2 separate regions of the Homo sapiens genome follow, and region 2 is linked to region 1. The links are contacts of gene promoters, found by promoter capture Hi-C in blood cells and fetal thymus (Javierre and others, 2016). All regions are on one chromosome and are shown on one strand. Each heading gives the region's core, a stretch centred on a gene start or on the middle of the fragment in contact. The rest is flanking DNA. Distances are from core to core; before and after follow the strand shown. Region 1 holds the start of LINC02314 (long intergenic non-protein coding RNA 2314). Region 2 overlaps RTL1 (retrotransposon Gag like 1).

Region 1 (6,377 bases), core at 477-2,976:
TGTGGTCCCTTCTGTCCCGCTCACCCAGCATTCCTGGTGCTTCAGACAGGGTCTGGGATGTTACAGGTGCTTAGAACGATGTCATGATCAAGTGACATGATGATTGATAGAGATGACTGTAGAATGGGGGCTATTCGAATGAGAAGTACCTTTTGGGCAGTAAGTTAAAACAATGGGTAGACCCTTGAGGAGTTCATGGTGTCATTTGATGATGCAGTCTTCGTGACCCTTTCCCTAGGGTTTTTTCTTTTTCTTTTCTTTTTTTTTTTTTTTTAACGGAGTCTCGCTCTTGTTGCCCAGGCTGGAATGCAATGGCGCAATCTCGGCTCACTGCAACCTCCGCCTCCCAGGTTTAAGCGATTCTCTTGCCTCAGTCTCCCGAGTAGCTGGGATTACAGGCGCCCGCCACCACGCCCGGCTAATTTTGCATTTTTAGATTCTCCATGTCGGTCAGGCCGGTCTCAAACTCCCGGCCTCAGGTGATCCGCCCGCTTCGGCCTCCCAAAGTACTGGGATTACAGGCGTGAGCCACCACGCCGGGCCTTCCCTAGGTTCTTAAATAACTGAGGAAGAATAACGAAGACCCAGGAAGAGATTCCAAAGAACACATGGCTAATTCACAGATAAGGGAGAAACACAATGTTTAAGAAATTCAGTAGCACCCAACAGCAGACTGAAAACAAGTTGGGAAGTGGACTCTCTCACGGAGCTCAAACACTCAGGCAGCATTTGCATCTCAGAAGTAATTTTTGAGAATTCATTTGAAGAAGGAAGGATTTTCCTTTCCTTTCCTTTCCTTTTACAGGATGGTTCCCCCTAATGAACTGTTTTAAGCGGACGAAAGAATTCATTTGGCACACTCTTGCTTAAAACCCACAGGAAAAAAAGCAAAGTTCTCTTAAGGATGTCAGCTCCAGACTAGAGCAGTCCGTTTGAAAAATCTTGGTTTTGAGAAAGTGGCAGAATTACATAATTATTCACAACTCATAAGACATTAAAATACTTCTTCCAAATATGAAGTTGTGAGATAACAAAAACCACAAATTCTAGACTTGCGGAGGGTGTGTGCATCTTTTACTCTCCCACACACAAACCCACATCAAAGAGTCTGGGTGGCGCTGGGCCGGAACTCGTGGCCGCGCTCGCCTTGGTGCGCCTGGGCCACAGGAGGAGGCTGCTGGGGCCGCTCTGCCGCCGCACCTCCCTGAAGGAGATCCGGGGGCAGTGGGGATGCTAAGGATGCAGCGCCGGAGAGGCAGGTGGCGGCCCCTGCGAAGAGGTGGTCCCCGCAAAGCACACGGAGACCACGAGGTTCCTTGTCGCCCACTCACAGCAATGCTGCACGAGGTGAGGAACGACCTGGAAGAGTCCCAAAGTAAAGGCATCGGGTGATGAGAGGAATCTGGGGGTGGAGAAGTGGTCAGACGAGCCCCAGGGCTCTGTCATTCTGGAAGGGAGCCCCTGCCCTGTCGTTCTGTGTGGGCATAACTTTGAAAATCAGGGCACTTCATTTAACAAGACTCATTTTTAAAAGCTCATGTTACCTGTTGAAAACCCAAGGGAGACTGGCCTTTGGCGGATGGATTAAGCGCCGCTCATTCAGTTCCATTTTACGGAAGGACCTGCCTCAGCCCCGTATGAGGCTGCGGGGATTCCAAAGTAAAGTCAAGGAGATGGGGTTCCTGCCTGCAAGGAGCTTCCCACCTAGCAGGGCCGTCCGGTGGGCAAACTGTGGGCACTGGATGAGCAAATAGTGCATTTTGCTGACGACAGGAGACGCAGGTGGCGGGGGGGTGCCCAGGAGCCCGAGAGGAGGGGTGTGGTGGAGGGCGGGAAAGGAGGGGTGGGGTGGAGGGCAGGAGACGAAGGGTGGGGTGGAGAGCGGGAGAGGAGGCTGAGCCCTGGAGCGTGGAGTGGGCATGGGCCAGGGACACCGAGAGAGCAGCCTGCGCAGAGACGATGGGGCAGCAGACAGGCCTGTGTGTCTGAGGAGGGGAGCCTCCAATGGAGAAGGCTGAGGAGTGGGTGCAGGCAGGAGACTGTTGAGACTGGCCGTGGGGAACCGCAGATGGGCGTCAGCTGGGGAAGACAGTCTAGCCGCACTGGAGAGGCAGGACTGTGGGGTCAGACGAGGGTGGGGCTGGCCTTCTGGGAGAACCCCAGAGGCTCAGCAAGAGGTACCACAGGGCTTGAGCTGTTGAGACGGAGAGAAATGCTGAGGATGTGGCCCGGACAGGGCCCAGAGGGACCCGGGCCTCCCTGCATAGGTGCTTGGCAGTGCCCTCTCAGTGGTGGTATCAACTCCTGGGCGAAGGCGAGAAGATGGCTGGTGAATACAGCCTGCAGGCAGGCAGCATATTTAATAAGATTAGGACTTGGGAGAAAAGTCCTGGGCTTGTAGGTGGGAGCTGAGGCCACCGCAGGGTGGGCGTTCCTGGACAGTGGGTATTTAGAGAGCAGAAGAGACCGCAGGAACAGCCCGAGATGACCCAGCCTCTAGAGGTGGGCTCAGGAGGTGGGGGAGGAGCAGCCGGGAGGGTGGGAGAAGCCCCCATGGGGAGCGGCACCACCACAAGACTGAGGCAGTGGTGGGAAGGCCACGGAGACCTCCCAGAAGAAAGGGCTGAAAAGTCTGTGGAATCCTCTGAGTCAGAAGGTCCTGGGAACCATTGCCCAAGCAATTCCTGAAGGCAGAAAGAAGCCTCATTGCATCGGGCTAAAATGAATGGAGCTGGAGGAGCGGGGATCTTGGAGGACCGAGTCTGTGGCTGACTCATTTCAGGGTCCACTGTAGTGCTTGGCACACAGTGAGTGCCCAATCCATACCTTCTAATTAGAAATATTTCCCTCTATTTCCACAGACCTCCATTAGCAATGCCCTTTCAGCAGTGTTAGCTTATTTAACATTTATAAAAGCATGTATCCTCGAAACAGGAGACAGGCTCATGAACTTGACCAAGGAAGAGCAAGTGATCAACTGCAGACCCATCCAATTGGTGTTTTTCCATTTTTCTCGTTGGTTGTCATAGCCTCCCCTGCCGAAGGCATCTTATCTTTGCTTGCATGTTAACTGCCTAAGGCACAGAGTTCAAAAAGCAATTTCCATCTCATGCTTTGAATACCTTCCATGTGCCAGAACCATGAGGGTCACGGGGCTGCTGCCCTTCGGGATCTCACAGTCTAGTGTTTTTGCTTAGCATGGTGGAAATTGGATAAAATCAAATTCTCTGAAAAAATCATACTTTAAAAGGAGGTACGGCCCAAGGAGCATCAACAGCACCCCATTTGTATGTGGAACCCCTTGAAGGGACCAGATAATCAAGAGAACTGTGTGACAAGAAAACAATGGCTGCAAGAATAAGGGCACTGTCCTTAATAAAGCTCACCTCTGGAGAATTAACTAGCCTTATGCCAGAGTAGCTCTGACAGTGAAGGGGTTAAAATAACAAATAAATGACTTTATTTAGATTTCAGCATTTCTGGCATTTTTTTTCTAGCTTTTTTTTTTTTTTTTTTTTGCCAGAGTATTTGATGTGACAGGTTTTGTTTGCTCACACTTGTCTCTCTTTTAAAATTCTCATATCAGCAGTAAAAGCTATTTCTTTTTCCTGTAACATCTTGAGCTTGGTATCCAATGATGGGAGAAATGGCTCTTGCGTTCCTTGAAATTATAATATTATGCCTAATTTTGGGGGAGAAAAATTAGGGTAATTTAGATCTGGAGCCGCTGAAGCCTGCAGGCAGGTCAGTTGCAGCATTATTGCTGATTAGTTATCTAAAAAGTGTTTTCGCCCAAGGGCAGGCTCTGCCATTTCTGGCATTCTATAGAAAGGCTGATGTCGAGGCCTGTCTGGTCAAGGAAACGATGGTCATCACCCATTTTCGAGGTGGCAGTCTGGGCTCAGTGGGCTCTGGTTAGGGAGTGGAGAGCCTCAGACCATCCCCCGATTCACTGTTAGGGAGCAAGTGAACGAGTGGGGGCAGAGCAAGCATGCTGTCCTGGCTCTCTTCATTAAGCCGCCTATCACTATCAAAAGCCTCACTGTCATCCTTGGTACCACTGGAACTCTGAACGCACAAGTGCTCTTGCAAAGGATGCCTCTTTGAAGCAGGCGATTGGCTTCAGGCACCGATGATCTGGAAATCATTGGTGCAAGTGGAAAGGTTACAGAGGGAAGTCTGTCTTTTCTTGACTCTGCGAGATCATGTATAGACTATAAACAAACCAGAATGTGTTGCTAATCATTTTAAAAGCAAGTTTGAAGTTTACTTATAGGAGTGAGACTCTGCTGTCTTTTCTAGTTTCCTTCACTTTCCTCAGGCCTCTTTGGGTCCCTTCTGGTCCCCGCAAGGGTGCTACCTCTTTAGCCACTGATTTCCAGGTGAGCATACACGTCCTTTGTGTGCGTGGCTGGTGGGAGCTCTTTGCTCCTTACATCTTTTGGTGTGGCTGGGTGAAAGGCATTCTGCAGCTTTCTGAGTGGAGGGGCCAACTAGTCTCAACTGGCTGGTATTTTCTAAACTTCTCTGTGTATAACCCTGAGAGCACTGTATTACCACTCTAAAGAGGGAGACTGGAGAGCCAAATGCCAGTGGAATTCTGTAATGTGGGCTGCAGTGTAAACTGTGGTAGGGTTGAACTAAGGACTGTTCTAGAAAAACCTGTAAGTAATTAAGTTCTCCCTCCAGCAAGGTAAAAGCTGAGTCTGAAGTATATTAGTACAAAAAAAAAAGAGTGAAACCTTTGTTGGTGGTTATATATTTTTTCTCGTTTTTAATGTAAATAAATAAAGAATTCTGGCAAGACAAAAAATCTCATATCTCCTTACTGACCTAAGGAGAGAAAAACAAAAGATGTAGCCATTGTTGGCTGCATGTTTTAAATGGCTGAGGTCAGGATGAAACTTACATTACCCTGTTTCAGCAATTCCCAAACCATGTTCTGGGGAATATAAGAAAGTTCTTGGGGAGGGTTGGGGAGGAGAGAGGAAGATTTTGTAGACAACTGTATTTCAGAAACCTTGCATATTATATTTTCTCCTTTGGAGATTCTCAGTGCATTTTAGTGTATTAAAAAAAATGCAGTGTGCCTTTGATTAACCGAGCATTTTCTCATCCACTGTGACCACAGAATCCTTTTGCACAGGGCGCCTGCTCACATCTTATGGGAATGACTGCTTACTTGGTCCACAATGGAAACACCATCACTAGCAATTCTTCTACCTGCCAGCCTCACTGTCTTTCTCTGAGCTGGCTTCCTAACACTTTATTTGAATCTATGTTGTTATGCAGTCCATTGTGATGTGTGTATCAAACTTCCAAGATAGACTGCCTTTGTATATCTTTTTCTTGCATTGTTTCACTTGTTATAATAAGATCAAATTATTTTTTGAATTGGAGAATACAAGTCAATAAATATTTTTAAAAATTAAAAAATAAAGTAGCTGAAATAAGAAGAAATAATTTTTTTTGCAAATTGCTTGGCCTATGGAGGCATTCATCAAAGATTCCTTTTTCTGTTGTGACCCATTTCACGGTCGCCGTTTTGTGGCCTGGTGAAGCCTACAGACCCTTTCTCAGACTAATGTTTTTAAATGAATGAAGTACCAAGAGTCACAAAGGAAACCTGTTCTATTGAAATAAGGTGACAATATATCAAAAGCCACATTTGTGATGTATATTCATATGTGCTTCTTTATTAATATCTTAAATAAGATCGAGTGGTATAAATCTAACAACTACCACGATTTCGGAGTAGTGATGAGTGCGAGTGATATTTCGAGATACCTGCAACAGCTTTAATGTGTGAAAACATTTGTGATTTCTATTGACAGCAAAGTCACAGGAACAGCAAATACCACTGAGGTTTCTTGCCTACGTTTATAATTGAAGCAAGTGTTCTAAATGTCTGTTAGAAAGTATTGAAAATAAAGGTAGAAATTTTTTTCCCATTCAAGTTTACAAACCACCTTGAGGCATATGGTATCTACTAACAGGTCAAAGTTAAGTTTGCTTCATTTGGGGAATGTGAGTTGATAATTTATAAAGTCAAATCTTGGTGTGTAAGGGGACAGGGCAGGGAAGCTTGGGGACTGCTCAGGAGTTAGGCTGGCCAGCGGGGTAAGCCTAACTTGAGATGGCCAGCCAAGGTCAGCAGGATGGAAGGTAGTTGGTACCTTGTGCCCACCCCACCGGAGCCCACCAGAGCCCACCGGAACCCACCAGATCCCACTTGAGCCCACCGGATCCCTACAGCCGTGCATTCAGTGGTAACCAATGCACAGTGCCCCACGCTGTTTTTTACAGATTCTAAGTTTTAAAAATTTTTCTGCTTTTATCCATGTATTCTCATTTTTGGGGGAATACATTTGTAGCCT
Region 2 (5,874 bases), core at 2,432-4,931, 560 kb after region 1:
GCCAGAATTTGGAGGCCCGACAGGCCCCAACAACGCCCAAAGCCCTCCCAGAGAGGCAGATGCTCAGCAGGTGTGGAGGGAACCCCCTGGCCCTGCTTCCAAGGCCCCTCACTCACCTCCAGTGGGGTATTCGTCTCCAGGACATGAGTCTCATCTCCTTCCTGGTGATGACCTGCAAGATGGGTCTGCCTCCATTTCCTTCCATTGGGGATCGAGCACCGTGCCTGGCCCAGAAAAAGAATCAGGACATGCTGCTGTATGAATTAATGAATTATGGGCAGAGGGACGTGGTTAAACAAAAAAAAGAAAAGAAACATTTGGGGACAATAAAATCGAAATGCATTTGGAGGCTGGAGAATGGGAAACTCAGTCTTTTCAGAGAGAAGCGTGAGGAACAGGAAATGGAAGCTGGAAACTGTAGGTGGTGAAAAGTTCTAGTTTCATGCGAAAAGAACTTCAGCTTTATAGTTTAAGTAGAGAAGAGCAATCCAAAGATTTTTAATGTAAGAAATAATTGGTCCAATTTTCATTTCATGCTCAGGCATTTAGATTTTATGTTGAGGACATGAAATTTGACAGGTTTGAAGCTGGGAGTGCCATGATTAAAAGTGGGTGCCTTGCTAAAATGGTGAGGCTTTTTGTAGTGATGAAAACACGTTGAGATTTTAAGCAAGAGTTTCATAATTTGAGTTTCCTGGGAAGAAATCTGGACTTTGTTTTGAGGGATGACAGGATCAAAGTTTTATATCATGCTAAGGAGTTTGGATTTTTGCCAAAGGGTTTTAAGAAATGTGATGATGAGATTCTTGTTTGTGGGAGATAAGTATGCAGAAAAACATGATAAAATATATTTTACGGGTAACGGCTTTGGGATTCACATTACAAGCAACAAGGAAACACTGGAAATTGTAAAAGTAACAGCCACCAATTTAACAATCATGCGCAAACATTTTGAATTTCTATCTTGGGGGAGTGCCAATTTCAACCTGCAGAGCTTGCCTAGGAGGTGTGATTAATGTTGACACCAAAGTTGAAAGATTTTAATCAGAGGAGTTAAATGATCAATATTGCGAATATGAAAAGAAATTTGGAATTTATTTTGAGGCTCCAACATGATTAGACTGTTGCATATGCCAAGGAATTTGATTTAGCCAATAAAACTTTCTAACAGAGTGGCCTGGTGAGTTTTTTGCGTTTGATAAATAGTATGCAGTGAATTACAAAATAAAATTCACATTTTATGCTAAGAATTTTGACTTTTCTTCCATTTACAACTAAGAGACACTGTAAGATTTTAAAAGGAGTTATAAGATCAAATTTTATATATTGTCCTAGGAAGTGTGAATTTGACTTTAAGGGATGACATGATCAAATTTTTATATCATGTTAATAACTTTGGATTTAAGCCAATAAAGGGCTTACAGCAGGAACAGGATGAGATTTGGGGTTTTTTAATAGATCATCCTGAGAGAAACTACATGGTAAAATGTCGCATTTTGTGTTAAGTAGTTGGGACTTTATGTTACAGGCAATGAAGAAACCTCGAGAAGTTTTAAGTTGAGAAGTTACATGCTCAAACAAGTGCATTTTGGCACAGCTATAAGACAGGATCTCTATGATAAAGATGATATGATCAGATTTTGCTCACATGCTAAGGAGATGTGATTTTACAAAAGAGTTGAAGGCATTCAAGTGCTGTGTTTGGAAGGGGTGGGGGATGAGCTCATTGAGCTCATTGTTGAAATCTCATGCAGAGGCGTTCGGATGTCAGCCAGTAAAGCGTTTTAAGAAGTAAATTGATGAGGGTTTTGTCTCCAGAGAAACTGGATTGTAAACATATTTTAAGTTAAGGTATCTGGATTTGCTGAACCAGATAATGAATAAGCATCAGACCACTCGTGAGCAGAGGTATCCCCTGGGCACAAGGGCACCCAGGCTGGGCTCCATGCTGAGGAGACGGGTCATTTATAGACAAAGCATGTTTTTATAAAAAGAAGTTATATGATTAAATTTACATAGCATGCTAAGAAGTTTGGACACTATTTTGAGGGATGACAGAATTACATTTTTATGCCATGCTAAGGAATTTGGACTTCAGCCATTAAGAGTCTTGTTTTTTTTTTGAGAGGGAATCTCCCTCTGTTGCCCAAGCTGGAGTGCAGCGGCGCAATCTCGGCTCACTGCAACCTCCAAGGTTCAAGCGATTCTCCCGCCTCAGCCTAGGAGAAGTAGCTAGGATTACGGGCATGAGCCACTACTCCCGGCTAATTTTTGTATTTTTAGTAGAAACAGGATTTCACCATGTTGGCCAGGCTGACCTAGAACCCTTGACCTCAAGTGTTCCACCTGCCTTGGCCTCCCAAAGTGCTGGGATTACAGCTGTGAGTCACCGTGCCTGGCTCATTAAGAGATTTTTAAGGCAGTAACATGGCAGAAATTTTGTCTTGGGTAGAGTAGTCAGAGAAATTTTATAGTAAAATGTATTGTTCTATGCTAAAAATAATTAGACCTTATCTCATAGGTAATTAAGAGATAGAATAAAGCTTTAAGCAGAAGTTATAAGAGCAAATTCGTGTATCTTGCAAGGGAGAGTGACCTTTTTATTTTGAGGAATGACATGGTCAGAATTTTATATCATGCGAAGAGGTTTGGAATTAAGCCAATAAAGGGTTTTAGGAGTGACCTGATGAGATTTGGGGGTTCGTATTAATCAGTTGGCAAGTAAATTACACGGTGAAAATTTTCATTTTATGCTAAGTGGTTGAAACTTTACAGGCAATAAAAATGAATTTTTATATGTGTTAAATAGAGAAATTATGAGATGACCTTTATTCATCTTGCTAACAGTTTAAACTTTGATGTTAAGAAGTATTAAGATTTTTCTAACATGCCGAGGATATTAGATTTTGAGCTGAAGGCAGGAACATTGAAGGATTTAATCATTCACATGGTCGAATTTGTAAATATGTTAAGCAGTGTAGACTTTATATTAAGAGGGGGCATAATCTAGTTTTTAAATCGTCTTGCTAAGAAATTTAAATTTTCACCAATAAAGAGTTTTAAGTGAGAGACATGCTGAGATTTTTATTCCTGATAGATAAGTCTGCAGATGAATTACTTAGTTTTTGTATTTCAATTAGAATTATTTATTTGTATTTCAATTAGAATTTTATATTAGAGGTTTGGAATTTTACAGTAATAATGCATATCTCAGAGGACTTTTATGGAGAGGAAATGAGTTAATTTCTGCAATGTGCTATGTACATCATGATGATGATGATGATGATTCTTATAATTCCTATACCATGCTGATTTGTATACTGTGCTTTAAAAAAATGTGATCTCTACCTTGAGGAATGACAAAATAAGAATTTTATATTATATTAAGGCCCTTACATTTTAACCAGAGAATAGTTTTGGTGAGTTTACATGTCAGATATGTTTACGCTAGAAGGTTTGGATTTAATATTGCAGACAGTAAATAAACAGTGGAAGGCTTTAATCAGAGAGACTGCATGATCAAATTTAAGTGTCATGCTAACAAGGGTGTACTTAATTTTGAGAAACAGCAGATCTGAATTTTGTATCCTGTTGGAAAGCTTGGATTTTAGCCAATGAGTTTCACGTAAGGGGGAACGCAGTTTTTTTTTTTTTTTTTACGGATGGGTCCAGTGGCTTAGAAGAAAACTCAGAAGTAACAAAAGGTGTTAAATTTATAAAGAGCAGTAGCTTTACAGTTAATCTATCAGATAATCAAAGCTTAATTTGCTCTGCCCCAGCAGAGAAGAAATGTGCAAATAACCCCAACCAAGACATTCCCTTTCAATTCTGTCTCAGCCCACTAAAACCACCCAACACTAGATTTCCAAAAATCCACTCTGGGACCGTCAGATTCCAAAGATGTCACATGTTCCCCCCAACCCCCACACTCAATGTCCCAACTCTGCCAGATACATGTCTGTTGGGAGGGCTCAACCAGCAACAGAGAGAAAAAGATATTTGCTAGAAAGAGGAGACCAGACCCACTGGCGTTAAGAAGGGGACCTGGGAGGATAAGATTGGAGAGGCGTGCAGATATGCTTGCACTGGTGAAATTGAGGCCAGATGTGTGAAGTTCCAGAAGCCTCACAAAGAGGGCAGTCCTGGGAGAGTGGAGATTGTAGGAAGAGAAGGAGATTATTTGAAGATCTCCTCAACAGCTCAGAGGTCGGGAGAACATAGCATTGGAAGGAGACCAAATCGAGAAAGAGAAATTGGCCAAAAGTCTGAGTTAGAATCAAGTAACAAATATGCAGTTATCCAGCACATAGTAGGTATGTTATAAAATTTATGGAAAAAAAAAAAAAAAACCCAGACCTGTACACACCCCCTGAAATTTCTATTTTGAACATGGGGAAGGAAATAAGAACTATTTTGGGCTGCTGACCCAACTGACGGGACAGTGGCCAAGTGCCCATTTTCTCCTCTTCCACTGCACTGGTGAAACAGTAGGCATCTTTGCTAGAGATTCCCGCTCCACAACCAAGGTGGCTGGGCTTGCTCCAGAGCCCTGAGCCTGCCAGGGGTGGCTTTGGATGGTGCTGAGATGTGACCTCTGTGATTCTCAGGTGACCAAAGCAGGAAAAGAGGATTGACCAGGTGCATGTGCCAGGGGGGAATGGAGCAGCCTGTGCACCCTGCCAGGTACCCGCCTGCCACGGTGGCTGCTCCCAGCCACAGAATTTATGGGCTGTGAATTTCTCACATCTATGGAGGAAAAGGACAGGACAGGCAGACTGAATAAGCCTGGGAGGCAGGTCAGGGGTTGACAGATCTTCCCTCCCTGGGGGCACCCCAAGTGACCAGCCAAAGAGGCTGGCTCGATACAAGAAGGCTTTCCCCCATTTCTCTCTGCTCTGATTAGTTGGGCATCTGATTTGTCCTTGAGACCCTGATACTGCCACTTCACAAGATCCTAAACTACTGCCTTTACTCCCCACACTCCCCTTCCACCACCAGGTTCTGATCTCCACGGTCCCAGCTACTGACTGGACGCCATCACAACCTTACCAATCTTCAGAATACACTCCTTTCCATCCGACGAAATGATAGAACCCTCTGAAGACTCATTTGAGACGATGATGGAGCATAAGAATCCATCATCAAAACAAATGGAGTCCTCCGAGGGCTCATCCAACACCACCGAGGCGACGTCGGGCAGTGGAGTGCGGGGAGAGGCAGGGCCAGCCAGCGGCCCAGCCCAGGAAAAGAAGGAGCCCCCCAGTGGCCCACTCCAGGAAATGGAAGAGCTGCCCACTGATCTACTCCAAGACATGGAGGAGCCATCCAGTGGCCCACGTAAGGAAATAGAGGATCCACCCAATGACCTACTCCAAGACCTGGAGGAGTCATGCAACGGTTCACACCAGGCAAGGGGGGATCCACTCAGTGGAGCATCTGATAGGATGAAAGAAGCATCAGTCAACCCATCGGGAGCCCGAGAAGAACAAGAGGCTCACACTGACCTGAAGGAATCGGGAAGGGAGGAGACTCCTCAAGAGCAAAACCAGACCGAGCACTCAACCGCAGAACTTATGGCCATGGTGAGGTCCATCATCTCGCTGTACTTCCGAATGCAAGACCTCAAAGAGCAACAGAGAGTAGCAGAAGAGATCTTGATCAAAGGGATCAATGCAGGCCAACTGCCCGCCCCAAAGCACTTCTCTGGCGATCGCAGAGAATTCCACGAGTTCATCGTACTCTGCCAACTGACCTTACAGAGCTACCCAAGAATGTTCTATAACGACCGTCTGAGAGTTGGCTATGTCATCAATCACCTGTCCGGCTTGGCATTAGAATGGGCCAAAGCTCTACTGCAGGAAAACAGCCCCCTGA

The links. Contacts are between HindIII fragments. The CHiCAGO score rates a contact against its expected background, and 5 or more counts as called.
Region 2: a contact is called between a fragment that was not itself captured here and the fragment with the promoter of LINC02314 in region 1, in 4 of 17 cell types (M1 macrophages, M2 macrophages, M0 macrophages and 1 more). The highest score is 7.1, in M1 macrophages.

The regions. Positions count from the first base shown.
Region 1 is chr14:101,437,425-101,443,801 of GRCh38, reverse strand. It overlaps LINC02314 (long intergenic non-protein coding RNA 2314), which reads right to left and starts at 1,726. Exons shown (of 2, transcript NR_135240.1): 1 at 1,545-1,726. The HindIII fragment of the contact is 14,900 bases long and covers 1-6,086 here.
Region 2 is chr14:100,883,999-100,889,872 of GRCh38, reverse strand. RTL1 (retrotransposon Gag like 1) reads left to right here. Exons shown (of 4, transcript NM_001134888.3): 4 at 4,999-5,874. The coding sequence starts at 5,085. It overlaps MIR432 (microRNA 432), which reads right to left and starts at 5,390; the gene lies at 5,297-5,390. It overlaps MIR136 (microRNA 136), which reads right to left and starts at 5,171; the gene lies at 5,090-5,171. It overlaps MEG8 (maternally expressed 8, small nucleolar RNA host gene), which reads right to left and starts at 224. Exons shown (of 51, transcript NR_146000.1): 1 at 117-224. RefSeq lists enhancers at 219-388, 1,048-1,217 and a silencer at 3,887-4,181. The HindIII fragment of the contact is 160 bases long and covers 3,602-3,761 here.